Regions from separate parts of the Homo sapiens genome. Here region 1 is linked to region 2. Evidence: promoter capture Hi-C in 16 types of primary human blood cells and fetal thymus (Javierre and others, 2016). All regions are on one chromosome and are shown on one strand. The core of a region is centred on a gene start or on the middle of the fragment in contact, and the rest is flanking DNA. Distances in the headings are between cores, read along the strand shown. Region 1 holds the start of MCM7 (minichromosome maintenance complex component 7). Region 2 overlaps PILRB (paired immunoglobin like type 2 receptor beta).

Region 1 (6,033 bases), core at 756-3,255, 270 kb before region 2:
TTTATTTACCACCTAAAGGAGAAGAACAAAAAAAAAAAAAAAAAAGAGCAACAGGATGGGGAAAGGAGAGCACAGAGAACACCAGGCAGAAGTGCCCCTCCTTTCTGCCTGCTCAGAAAACATCAGTATCTGAGCAGCCTCTCTACAGAAGCTTAAACGCCTCGCCCTTTGTTTGCCATTGTTCTCTAACCACTCACTTCCCTCTCCTTGTACTGAGGCAGCAGCTCTTGTACGGCATCAGCAAAGAGCTTCGCGTAGCGCCTGGCATTCTCACAAATTGAGTCCACCAACTCGGGGTCATCCTCGGCTACGTCGTCCAGGTCCACATACAGAGCCACCTGTTCCCGATGAGCCAGCCGAACCTCAAGTGGGGAAGAGACAGAAACACCTCAGAGCCACATTCACTTTGCTCACCAGTGTTCATATGTGAAAATGCATCACTGAGAACTCAGCACAGGCTCTGGGCATCCACAGGGGAGAACGCAGCGCCACACAGAGCGATACTCGCTTTTCAGCCCTCAAACCCTCTAATTGTTATGTCTTTAATAAAACAAGCCAAGCTGCTGCTTATGGCTCCTTAAGCACCCCGCTCCCCATTCCCTTTACCCAATCTTAGACTTACCAACTGGTTCCCATACTTGAACTGCTTCTTCCCGAGTTCATCATCCTGGTAGAACTCTTGTAAGAACTTCTTAACCTTTTCTGTAACATGAAATGTAAAACCGTAAGACACAAACTTTAAGACAAATCTTAGATACCCATTTTCGCTTAAAACACGACCTATGAACTAATTAATAATATGAGCATTTAAATAAACCTACCGAAGTCTCCCCAAAGTGGGCATAACTCTTTTTCACAAGTCTGTTTCTAACCAGCGAAGAATAAAGAGCCCGTGGCAGTGCACAGGGCCATCCAACATCTCCCCAGGGGAATTCCGGTCCCTACTTTAGTTTAAAATTCTAGCGCCCTTCCCCGTTGGCCCCTCACACTCCGGTCTCAAGGTTCTCAGCTTTCTTTCCACCCCTATGATCCCCCGCCTTCTTTGGGTCCCCTTAGCCCCTGATTTCACCGGGACCTCCGCCACCGCACCCCGCCACCGCACCCCACCCCCGCTCCCGCCATCGCTTCCGCTCTTAGTAAACAAAGAAGCACATGGGCCCGGATTCCAGCCGCTTCACAGCTCGGGATTCCTCCGCCCAGGGCGGGAGCCAGTCCAGCCATTGGCCATCACACCCAGAGACACCGCGATCCCAGCCCACTGCCGCCTTTCCCGGGCCCGAGCGAAGCTCCGGATCCCAGGCACGCCCCCCCGGGCCGCAGCTCTCTCCGCGGCCGCCGCGCGGAAGGACACTGTTTACACGACACTCCCTCCAGCCTCCTCGCGCCACTTCCGCCCGGCTCCACTTCCGCTCGGAGGGCGGCCTCAAACGGCCAATCCCGGCGCGCAGCGGCCCCGGCCTGCCCGCCCCCGGGGCCTACGCGCGCCTGGGGAGGGCGCGGGAACCTGGGAATGCCCAAAAGCGCGAAGGAAAGCGGGCACGGGAGCCCAGAGCCCTTAAGACTCTCCTGAGGTCCTGGGCGCGACTTTTCCCTGTGCAGCCCCCAGCCGGGTTAGCGCGCCCCCAAGCCCCCAACCCCACGACCCTAACACCTTTACCAGGTGGGATTACTAGCTTTTCTTCAACATCGATGGCCCCCCGCACGCTTCCCAGGCCCCGTGGGCCTTAGCCAGGCCGCAGCTCGACCCTGCCTCTGGCCTCGCGCACCCCAGAACCCGCCGACCCCGGTCCCCCAAGACCCCAGCTCACACCAACAGGTGTTCCCCGGGAGGCTCCCCGCGCAGGACGCCCTCCCGGGCTCGTAGACCCGTACCCTTCTCTAGCGCGTAGTCCTTCAGTGCCATCGCTGCCGAGGGCCGTGCGGCCGCGCTTGGCGGGCTCAGAGGTCTTGCTCCTGGGGAAGCTGAGAATCTCCGCGCGGTGGACTGTGGCCGGCCAACCGAAATTGGCGCGAAACGTCGCCCCCCACGTGACCGGCGCCACTGCGTGCGGGCCAATCGGACAAGGCGGCCTTCTTCACCTCCCGCTAGCCGCAAGCCAATCACCGTGCGGGCCTAGAATGAGTGACGGGGAGGCGGTGCGGGCGTCGGAAGGGAATCTCCGGGCGGGGTAGTGCAGGCGCCGGGTTTCCCGCGGTCCGAGCTGGCGCGGGCGGAGGAGAATCGCTCTTAAAGGGCCAGCGCACACGCGTTCTTTTGTTCCGGGGCCGCAGGGCGGGGCAGGCCCGACTTTCGCCGTCTTCTTGTCTACTCTCCAGAACGGCCATGATTTCCCAATTCTTCATTCTGTCCTCCAAGGGGGACCCGCTCATCTACAAAGACTGTATCCTAGACCCTTGGGGCTGGGAAGGGGCGGAGGGGCCGGGCGGGAGGGGCGCCCAGGGCCAGCCTGTGTCGCAGGATCCTTCACTGAGTCCTTCCACCCGCCAGTCCGCGGGGACAGTGGCGGCCGGGATGTGGCCGAGCTCTTCTACCGGAAGCTGACGGGACTGCCAGGAGACGAGTCCCCGGTTGTCATGGTAACCAGTGGCGGGAGGCGGGTGAGGAGCGGGGTCCCGTCGGGCCGGGTGGGCGCCAGCTCCCTCCCAGGACTGGTTCATTGGTAGATTCCACTTGGGGGGTGCATTCCGCCAAATAAAGCTAACGTGAGGCCCGGCGCGGTGGCTCACGCCTGTAATCCCAGCACTTTGGGAGACCGAGGCGGGCGGATCACCTGAGGTCAGGAGTTCGAAATCAGCCTGGCCAACATGGTGAAACTCCGCCTCTACTAAAAATACAAAAAAAAAAAAAACATAGCTGGGCGTGGTGGCGGGCGCCTGTAATCCCATCTACTCGGGAAGCTGAGGCTTGAGAATCGCTTGAATCCAAGAGGCAGAGGTTGCAGTGAGCCGAGATCCGGACACCGCACTCCAGCCTGGGAGACAGAGCGAGACTCCCTCTCGGGGTAGGTGGGGGTGGGGAAAAAAAAAAAAAGAGTCAATGGGCGCCAGCAACACACCAGGCCCAGCTCCCTGCGTGACTCCATCCTCAGCAACTCGGGGTAGTTAGTGTAATTAACCCCCTTTCCACATTGGGAAGCTGGGCCCAGGCATATGTCATGTATCTCCCAAAGGCACTGCTGTTGTGACTAGTAAGAGGCATCGGGATCCGAGCTCAGGTCTCCTGGGTTCTGATCACTCCACCTCCCTTTTTTTAACGCCTCTCTTCTCCCTGCCTGTGTCTCAGCATCACCATGGCCGTCATTTCATTCACATCAGACACAGCGGCCTCTATTTGGTGGTCACAACTTCAGAAAACGTTTCTCCCTTCAGCCTCCTAGAACTGCTCTCCAGGTGAGGAGGGTTGGGCTGGGCACCTGGTAGCTAGGAGGGGTCTGAGAGGAGGAGAAAATACACGCTCCAAGTGTTTCCTCAGGTTGGCCACCCTTCTGGGCGATTACTGTGGCTCCCTGGGCGAGGGGACCATCTCCCGCAATGTGGCTCTGGTATACGAACTCCTGGATGAAGTGCTGGTGAGAATCAACAATCCCCTTCTGTGGCCCCTACCCAATTCCCCTGAAGATACATCTGCTCTTCTACTGTGGGATGCCGTGGTTAGGAGGCCAAGTCTACCTTTTTTTTTTTTTTTTTTTTTGCTTTTAGAGACAGGGTCTTGCTCTGTTGCCCAGGCTGGACTGCAGTGGTGCAGTTATAGCTCACTGCAGCCTGGAACTCCTGGGCTCAAGCCGTCCTCCTGCCCCAGCCTCCCCTGTGCCTAGCTAATTGTTTATTTTTTGTAGAGACTAGAGTCTCACTGTGTTGCCCAGGCTGGTCTTGAACTCATGGCCTCAAGCCATTCTCCTACGTCTCGGCCTTCCAAAGCGCTGAGAGTACAGGAGTGAGTCACCATGCCTGGCCCCACTCCCCCTCTTTACCCCTTCCCTCCACTGATCACTCAGACTGTCCTTCCTTTACCACTAGGACTATGGCTATGTACAGACCACATCCACGGAGATGCTGAGGAATTTCATCCAGACGGAAGCTGTGGTCAGCAAGCCCTTCAGCCTCTTTGACCTCAGCAGCGTTGGCTTGGTCAGTAGAGGGAAAGAGGAGGGTGAGGAAAGAGAAGAGGGGTTGGCTGGGGTTGTCAGACCTGATGATTGATTGCTTTGGATGCTTTACAGTTTGGGGCTGAGACACAACAGAGCAAAGTGGCCCCCAGCAGTGCAGCCAGCCGCCCCGTCCTGTCCAGTCGCTCTGACCAGGTGAGGGAAGGATCCATGGGGTCAGACGCTCTGGTTTTGCTCTGGGATCCGGGAGTCCAAGATCTTAGGTCGGGCACAGCGGCTCACGCCTGTAGTCCCAGCACTTTGGGAGGCCGAGGTGGGCAGATCACCTGATGCCAGGAGTTTCAGAGCAGCCTGGCCAACATGGTGAAAACCTGTCTCTACTAAAAATGCAAAAAAAAAAAAAAAAAAAGAAAAAGATCTTGGCACATCTCCCACCCCCCCAGATGTGGGTGGAGGTGGGAGATGATCCCTTCCATCACCCATGTCCTCACCCTAGAGCTGTAGCTTTGACTGTCCTGTTCTTTCTCCCTGTCTGTCCATTTCAGAACATAGGCTATTCTGCTTCCAACCACCCAAATTCTCTCTCTTTCTCAGAGCCAAAAGAATGAAGTTTTTTTGGATGTGGTCGAGAGATTGTCTGTACTGATAGCATCTAATGTAAGTTTGAGCTCCCAAACCTGGAGCTGAGGACAGATGGGACTTGGGAAACATGGTGGGGTGGCTAAGACTCCCAGCAACGGCCGGGCACAGTGGCTCATGCTTGTAATCCCAGTGCTTTGGGAGGCCGAGGTGGGAGAATTACTTGGGGCCAGGAGTTTGAAACCAGCCTGGGCAACATAGCCAGACCCCGTCTCTACAAAAAATACAAATAAACAAATTACCCAGACATGGTAGTGTACACCTGCTGTCCCAGCTACTTGGGAGGCTGAGCCAGGAGGATCACTTGAGCCCAGGAGGTTAAGGCTGCAGTAAGCCAAGATCGAGTCACTGCACGCTAGCCCGGATGACAGAGCAAGACCCTGTCTCTTAAAAAAAATAAATAAGTAAAAAAGGCTGGGCACAGTGGCTCATGCCTGTAATCCCAGCACTTTGAGAGGCCGAGGTGGGTGGATCACTTAAGGTCAGGAGTTTGAGACCAGCCTGGCCAACACAGTGAAACTCCATCTCTACTAAAAATACAAAAATTAGCTACTTATGGTGGCAGGCATCTGTAACCCTAGCTACTTGTGAGGCTGAGGCAGGAGAATGTCTTGAACCTGGGAGGTGGAGGTTGCAGTGAGCCGAGATCACGCCACTGCCAGCCTGGGCGACAGAGCGAGACCGTCTCAAAAAAAGAAAGAAAAAAAGACTCTAACCTTGACGCCCCTGCCTCTCAGGGATCCCTGCTGAAGGTGGATGTGCAGGGAGAGATTCGGCTCAAGAGCTTCCTTCCTAGCGGCTCTGGTGAGGCATCTGCAGGCAGGACCAAGGGTTGGGGTTAGGGCGGGTTCCTTGGTGTCTTAAACCATGGCATTGCTGAGCTCTCCTGATGGTCTCTCCTCCGACAGAGATGCGCATTGGCTTGACGGAAGAGTTTTGTGTGGGGAAGTCAGAGCTGAGAGGTGAGGAGAAAGTGGGTCTTTCTCCCCTTGGAGTAGGTCATTGCCAGAGTTCATGGAGAGAAGTCAGACAGAGCCTCCCCTCTCCTTGCTCCTCTCCCAAAACAGGAGTCAGGAGAGAAGTCTCTCTCTCTCTCTTTCCAGGTTATGGGCCAGGAATCCGGGTCGATGAAGTCTCGTTTCACAGCTCTGTGAATCTGGACGAATTTGAGTCTCATCGAATCCTCCGCTTGCAACCACCTCAGGGCGAGGTCAGGGTTGGGGTGGCCTCATAAATTCCGTCCACCATGGGGAAGGGGGCAGTGGGGTCGTGAGACCAAACTAACCTT
Region 2 (5,906 bases), core at 1,773-4,272:
CAGCAGAGAAGGTGGGATGGAGACTGCTATCACCTGGATGCCACCCTGACTCACTGTTGGTCCCCCTACACGTCAGCAGCGGACTAAAGCCACAACCCCAGCCAGCTGAGTGCTGGGCCTCCCCAAGGGAGTGGGGAGTACAGGTGCGGGCAGGGGACGGGTTTGGAAATCAGGGACTGTGCTGCTAAGAACCCCACAAGCCCAGCCTGCCACAAATTCTCCTGAGTTTTTGCCACCTCCCACTTAAATCTGATCTCTGAAGCAACTGCCTCGCCTGCCTCACTAATAATCCTGGCCCTGCATCTAAAAACACTTCCCCTCCTGCAGGTAGCAGGGCGCCAAGCAGTGACTTCTGACCAACAGAGTGTGGGGAGAAGGGATGTGTATTAGCCCCGGAGGACGTGATGTGAGACCCGCTTGTGAGTCCTCCACACTCGTTCCCCATTGGCAAGATACATGGAGAGCACCCTGAGGACCTTTAAAAGGCAAAGCCGCAAGGCAGAAGGAGGCTGGGTCCCTGAATCACCGACTGGAGGAGAGTTACCTACAAGAGCCTTCATCCAGGAGCATCCACACTGCAATGATATAGGAATGAGGTCTGAACTCCACTGAATTAAACCACTGGCATTTGGGGGCTGTTTATTATAGCAGTGCAAAGAGTTCCTTTATCCTCCCCAAGGATGGAAAAATACAATTTATTTTGCTTACCATACACCCCTTTTCTCCTCGTCCACATTTTCCAATCTGTATGGTGGCTGTCTTCTATGGCAGAAGGTTTTGGGGAATAAATAGCGTGAAATGCTGCTGACACTTCCCTGTGCATCTCCCACATGGCTGCCAAGTGCCCCTTCCTGCTCTGCAGTACCTGAGTCCAGTCATGATGCAGGGAGCCTCCCCACTAGAAACAGATGGCACTCACAGATTTAAAGCAGTTGGAAGCAAGTTTAAGAAGGGAAATCTTTTTTTTTTTTTTTTTTTTTTTTTGAGACAGAGCCTCACTCTCATCACCCAGGCTGGAGTGCAGTGGCGCAATCTCTGCTCACTGCAACCTCTGCCTCCTGGGTTCAAGCCATTCTCATGCCTCAGCCTCCCAAGTAGTTGGGATTACAGGCGTGCACCCCCACACTCAGCTAATGTTTGTATTTTTTAGTGGTACTGGAGTTTCACCAAGTTGTCCAGGCTGGTCTCAAACTCCTGGGCTCAAGCAATCCTCCAGCCTCAGTCTCCCAAATAGCTGCAATTACAGGCGTGAGCCACCATGCCTGGCTGAGAGGGAATCGTTAAGAAGGAGTGGGCAGGGGCAAGAACACTGTCAGAGACAGTGTGTTGGCCACGGCTACTACAGCAAATTGGCTGCTTCCTGTGATCGCACGGGTTGAGGGCTCAGTTCCACAAGGCTGCCCCAGCATCAGATGCCAGTCGCAAGCTCACGTGGTGCCTGTGCTTCTGACACAGGGCTATAAAAATTGAGGTTCCCATGATCCCCTCCTTGGGTTCAATTAATTTTCTAGAATGGTACCTAGAACTCAGGGAAGCCCTTTACTTACATGTGTCCCCTTATAAAGGATATTATAGGGCCTGGCGCCATGGCTCATGCCTGTAATCTCTGTGCTTCAGGAGGTTGAGGGGGGAGGTTCACTTGAGCACAGGAGTTTGAGACCAACCTGGGCAACATAGCGAGACCCCGTCTCAAAATAAAGATATAGGATATTACAAAGGATAGTTATGAACAGCCAGATATAAGAGATACACAGAGGGAGGCCTGGGGGAAGGGGTGCAAAGCTTCCGTGTCTTCTCTAGGCACTGCACCCTCTAGGAAGCTCCATGAGTTCAGTTATCCAGAAGCCCTCTGCATCCCTTTTGGGTTTTTATGGGCTTCATTATAAAGGCATGATTGGGCCAGGCACAGTGGCTCATGACTGTAATCCCAGCACATTTTGAGGCTGAGGTGGGAGAATCAATTGAGCCCTCAGGTGGCAACTGAGGCTGCAGTGAGTTGTGATTGCACCACTGTACTCCAGCCTGGGTGACAGAGAGAGAGCCTGTCTCAAAAAAAAAAGACAAAACAAAAAACCTGGCCAATACGGTGAAACCCCATCTCTACTGAAAATGATCGTCACCTGATCCCCACCCCTTGAAGATGCCTCCACCCTCTCCATACGCATTTGGTCAGCACTAACTGCCCTGGGTGACAGGCACACTGCACTGGGTGACAAGGACCCAAAGCTACACCAGCCAGTGCCCCAGCCCTCAAGCACCTCCCTGTGCAGAAGGAAGACAACACAGAAAAGGGAAGCATGGTTGTCACAGAGGCCCAGAGGACTGCTGGCTGATGTCACTGAATGGGGAAGTGGTTGGCCGCACAGGCCCCAAGCTCAGACCTGATGCCACAGTGGACGTTCCTGGGCCATGTGACCTCAGGCTAGGCTCAGAACCACCCTCAGGGCCTCCGTTTCTTTCTGTATAAATTGAGGACCATACAGAGATGCTGCCTACCTCCTGGGATTGTCCAGAGAGTTAAAAGCTCTTTTAAAATGCGCCTGCTGGGCCAGGCACAGTGTCTCACACCTGTAATCCCAGCACTTTGGGAGGCTGAGGCAGGCAGATCACAAGGTCAGGAGGTCGAGACCAGCCTGAACAACATAGCAAAGCTCCATCTCTACTAAAAATACAAAAAGTAGCCGGGCGGGCATGGTGGCACGTGCCTGTAATCCCAGCTACTCAGGAGGCTGAGGCAGGAGAATCACTTGAACTCAGGAAGTGGAAGTTGCAGTGAGCCGAGATTGTACCATTGCACTCCAGCCTGGGTGACAGAGCGAGACTCCGTCTCAAAAAATAAAAATAAATCAAATGCACCTGCTGGCAGGGCGCGGTGGTTCATGCCTGTAATCTCAGCAACTTTGGGAGGCCTAGGCAGGTGGATCACCTGAGGTAAGGAGTTCAAGACCAGCCTGGCCAACATGGTGAAACCCCATCTCTGCTAAAACTACAAAAATTAGGTGAGCATAGTGGTGGGCACCTGTAGTCCCAGTTACTCGGGAGGCTGAGGCAGGAGAATCGCTTGAACCTGGGAGGCAGAGGTTGCAGTGAGCCGAGATGGTGCCACTGCACTGCAGCCTGGGCGACAGAGTGAGACTCCGTCTCAAAATAATAATAATAATAAAACAAAATGCACCTGCCATTTCTTTCCATCAGGTATGGCCATGGAAATGAGGGTCATAAGGGAAGCAGTGTATCCTCACAGATCCCCAGAAACGAGAGACACAGCCATGCAGGGCCACTTGGGAAAGCACCAGGGTCCCTCAGGGAGTAGAGGAAGCCAAGGGAACACAGGGGTGAGACCCTTTGTTATGCTTTCCCTGGAAAAGGCAAGGAAGGGTATGCAGGTTTAGGATTGGCTAGTTAGAATAACGTTAGCAGGCTCTGGGGATTAGAGGCTGTCATTTGTTATTTGGTGTCTGGCCCAGGATGATGAAGGCAGAGAAATACTGCCTTCTGAAGGGTGAGAGGCAGCTAGAAGAGCTGGTTCAGTGTTGGGGCCCTGGATTAGCTGGTTTGCATATGAAAGGCACACTCAGCCAGGAGCCGTGGCTCAAGCCTGTAATCCCAGCACTTTGGGAGGCCGAGGTGGGCAGATCACAAGGTCAGGAGATGGAGACCATCTTGGCCAACGTGGTGAAACCCCGTCTCTATTAAAAATACAAAAATTAGTTGGGCATGGTGGCACGCACTTGTAATCCCAGCAACTTGGGAGGCTGAGGCAGGAGAATCGCTTGAACCCAGGGGTGGAGGTTGCAGTGAGCCGAGACCGTGCCACTGCACTCCAGCCTGGCAGCAGAGTGAGACTGTTTCAGAAAAAAAAAGGGACACTCTCAGAGGGGTCATTTGCTAGCTCTAACAACTGGCTGGCTCTGGCAGGGGCAGTCCCTCTCTCTGCTCTTGGAGGTCCAAGATGCCAGAATATCAGCAATCCAGTGGGGCTTGGTGAGGTGGCTCACACCTGTCATCCCAGCACTGAGGGAGGCCGAGGCAGGAGGATTGCTTAAGCCCAGGAACTTGAGACCAGCCTAGACAACATAGTGAGACCCCATCTCTCAAAAAAAAAAAAAAATTAGCCGTGTGTGGTGGTGTGTGCCTGTGGTCTTCACTACTTGGGAGGCTGAGGTCAGCAAATTGCTTCAGCCCAGGAGTGATGGTGATCGCGTCCCTACACTCCAGTCTGTGGACACTCTAGTACCTTGAGGACAGTACAGCCTGATTACAGAAGCTTTACAGCAAGTCTTGAAGTCAGGTATTATAAATCTTCCACCTTCATTCTTCATTTGTAAAGGCCTTTTGGCTATTCTAGGTCCTTTGAATTACTGTGAGAATATTACAGTTGGCTTGTGAACTCCACAAAGCCTATGGGATGTCGATTGGGATCAGAGGAAAGCAGGAACGGTGGGTGCCAAGGAGAGGTGAGGGGCTGGGGGCAGGGACGGATGTGGCCAGTGAGGACAGTAGGATACTTGTTGGGGGAATGTGGGGACATCCAAGCAGTGGTTCTCATAATGCGGTGCAGGGTACTTACCCCCTCCCTGCCCCTGCTCCCCACACACGACTTCCCACGCCTCTCCCATGAGCACCTGCACTAAGGGGCTGCATTTAGGCTCTGCCCACATTGGAATCATGCCCTCCTCCAGGCCCTCCTCCTCCTCTCAGAAGCCCTGTCTGTGAGAGAGCCACAGCCCCAGGCTCAGTCCCAGGTTCTGTCACTGCTGTTGGGGGAGGGAGGATGAACAAATCCAGGAGACCTCACACCATCCCAGAGCAGAAATCCTGACACAGAAGGAATCTCCCATGGGGGTTCAGCTGGATCCAGGGCCTGAAAGTGACATAAACATGCATGTTGCATCTAAGGAGACTGCACGTGGCAGCATTGGGCAGCATGTGCCCTCCAGAGCTACCCAGAGGCTGTTGGCTATAAGTTCTATGTGGCCCCCACATTGGACAGCCTGGTAAGCAGGTGACCTTTCAGCCAGGTCCTCAGGTGGGGCGGGCCACCCTCTCGAGGCCCTGCCCAGACAGCCAGGGGGTCCCTTGTCCTCTCTGCAGCCCATCTTTCCAGCTGTGACCAGTTCAGCCCAAAGCCCCCGTCCCTCAGTTTCCCTGTGGGTTGAATGGAGATAATGTGTCACCTCAGAATGTTGTGAAGCAGAGAATGAGGTGTTTAGGGCCTGGCTCAGACGGAGGGGTTTCCTGAGCATGGGGAACCTGTTTCCTCAGGCCTGTAAAGGGAGGGAGGGCGGGCCGGCCTGGCTGGCCCTGGGAAGCACAGAGGAGCCTACTAGGACCAGGGAAGAGACTAAGAGAAGGGAGGCCCGTCCCTGCCTGCTTCTGTCTCAAGAAGGCTGATGTCACTTCCTCTGATGAAATCCTGTCTTCCCCCACGGCCCCTCAACTGATGCCACCTCACCCTGGAGAGGGTGGGCAGAGCCTCCTACGGAGGGAGCCCTGTGCACCACCAAAGCTCCCTGCTCCAGTGACCACCCCCGGGCAAAGGCCGGCAGATCCCCGTTAGAGATGGGCCCAGGACTGTGTGTGGGGTGGGTGTTGCTCTGAGCCTTCACTTTCTTCTGTGTCCAAGGAAGCTTCTGGATCAGCCAAGGGCTCAGGTGTGTGGAGGGAATGACCTGAGGGGCTGTATGAAGGGACAGCCTCCTGTCCTGCACTCAGAAGTTGAGGCCCAGAGATTCCACCCTTCAGCCAGGCCCAGACATCTGGGTTGAGGGGGCTCCAGTCCTGTACCCACTACTGCAAGTCACGTGGCCTGGGGCAGGGCTTCTCAGAGCCCTGTCCCCTCCTGTGTAGGGCGGGACGTCAGAGGGGAGCCTGCAGACCCAGTCTCATGTCTTGGGGGTCAAGGG

What was found. Contacts are between HindIII fragments. The CHiCAGO score rates a contact against its expected background, and 5 or more counts as called.
Region 1: a contact is called between the fragment with the promoter of MCM7 here and a fragment that was not itself captured in region 2, in 1 of 17 cell types (total B cells). The highest score is 6.4, in total B cells.

Annotation. Positions count from the first base shown.
Region 1 is chr7:100,099,392-100,105,424 of GRCh38, forward strand. MCM7 (minichromosome maintenance complex component 7) reads right to left here and starts at 2,006. Exons shown (of 15, transcript NM_005916.5): 1 at 1,873-2,006; 2 at 623-702; 3 at 198-362; 4 at 1-12. The coding sequence starts at 1,903. It overlaps AP4M1 (adaptor related protein complex 4 subunit mu 1), which reads left to right and starts at 2,252. Exons shown (of 15, transcript NM_004722.4): 1 at 2,252-2,381; 2 at 2,489-2,577; 3 at 3,284-3,390; 4 at 3,473-3,569; 5 at 4,018-4,128; 6 at 4,221-4,301; 7 at 4,701-4,763; 8 at 5,483-5,549; 9 at 5,654-5,707; 10 at 5,849-5,955. The coding sequence starts at 2,324. RefSeq lists enhancers at 1,201-1,360, 1,706-2,258, 2,281-2,330 and a silencer at 1,471-1,570. The HindIII fragment of the contact is 6,263 bases long and covers 150-6,033 here.
Region 2 is chr7:100,367,022-100,372,927 of GRCh38, forward strand. PILRB (paired immunoglobin like type 2 receptor beta) reads left to right here. Exons shown (of 4, transcript NM_178238.4): 4 at 328-810. The coding sequence ends at 356. It overlaps STAG3L5P-PVRIG2P-PILRB (STAG3L5P-PVRIG2P-PILRB readthrough), which reads left to right. Exons shown (of 17, transcript NR_036570.1): 17 at 328-810. It also overlaps a transcript of PILRA not described here. Among named protein-coding and RNA genes, the nearest start is that of PILRA, 3.5 kb to the right of the region's middle. RefSeq lists an enhancer at 3,383-4,134. The HindIII fragment of the contact is 2,485 bases long and covers 1,781-4,265 here.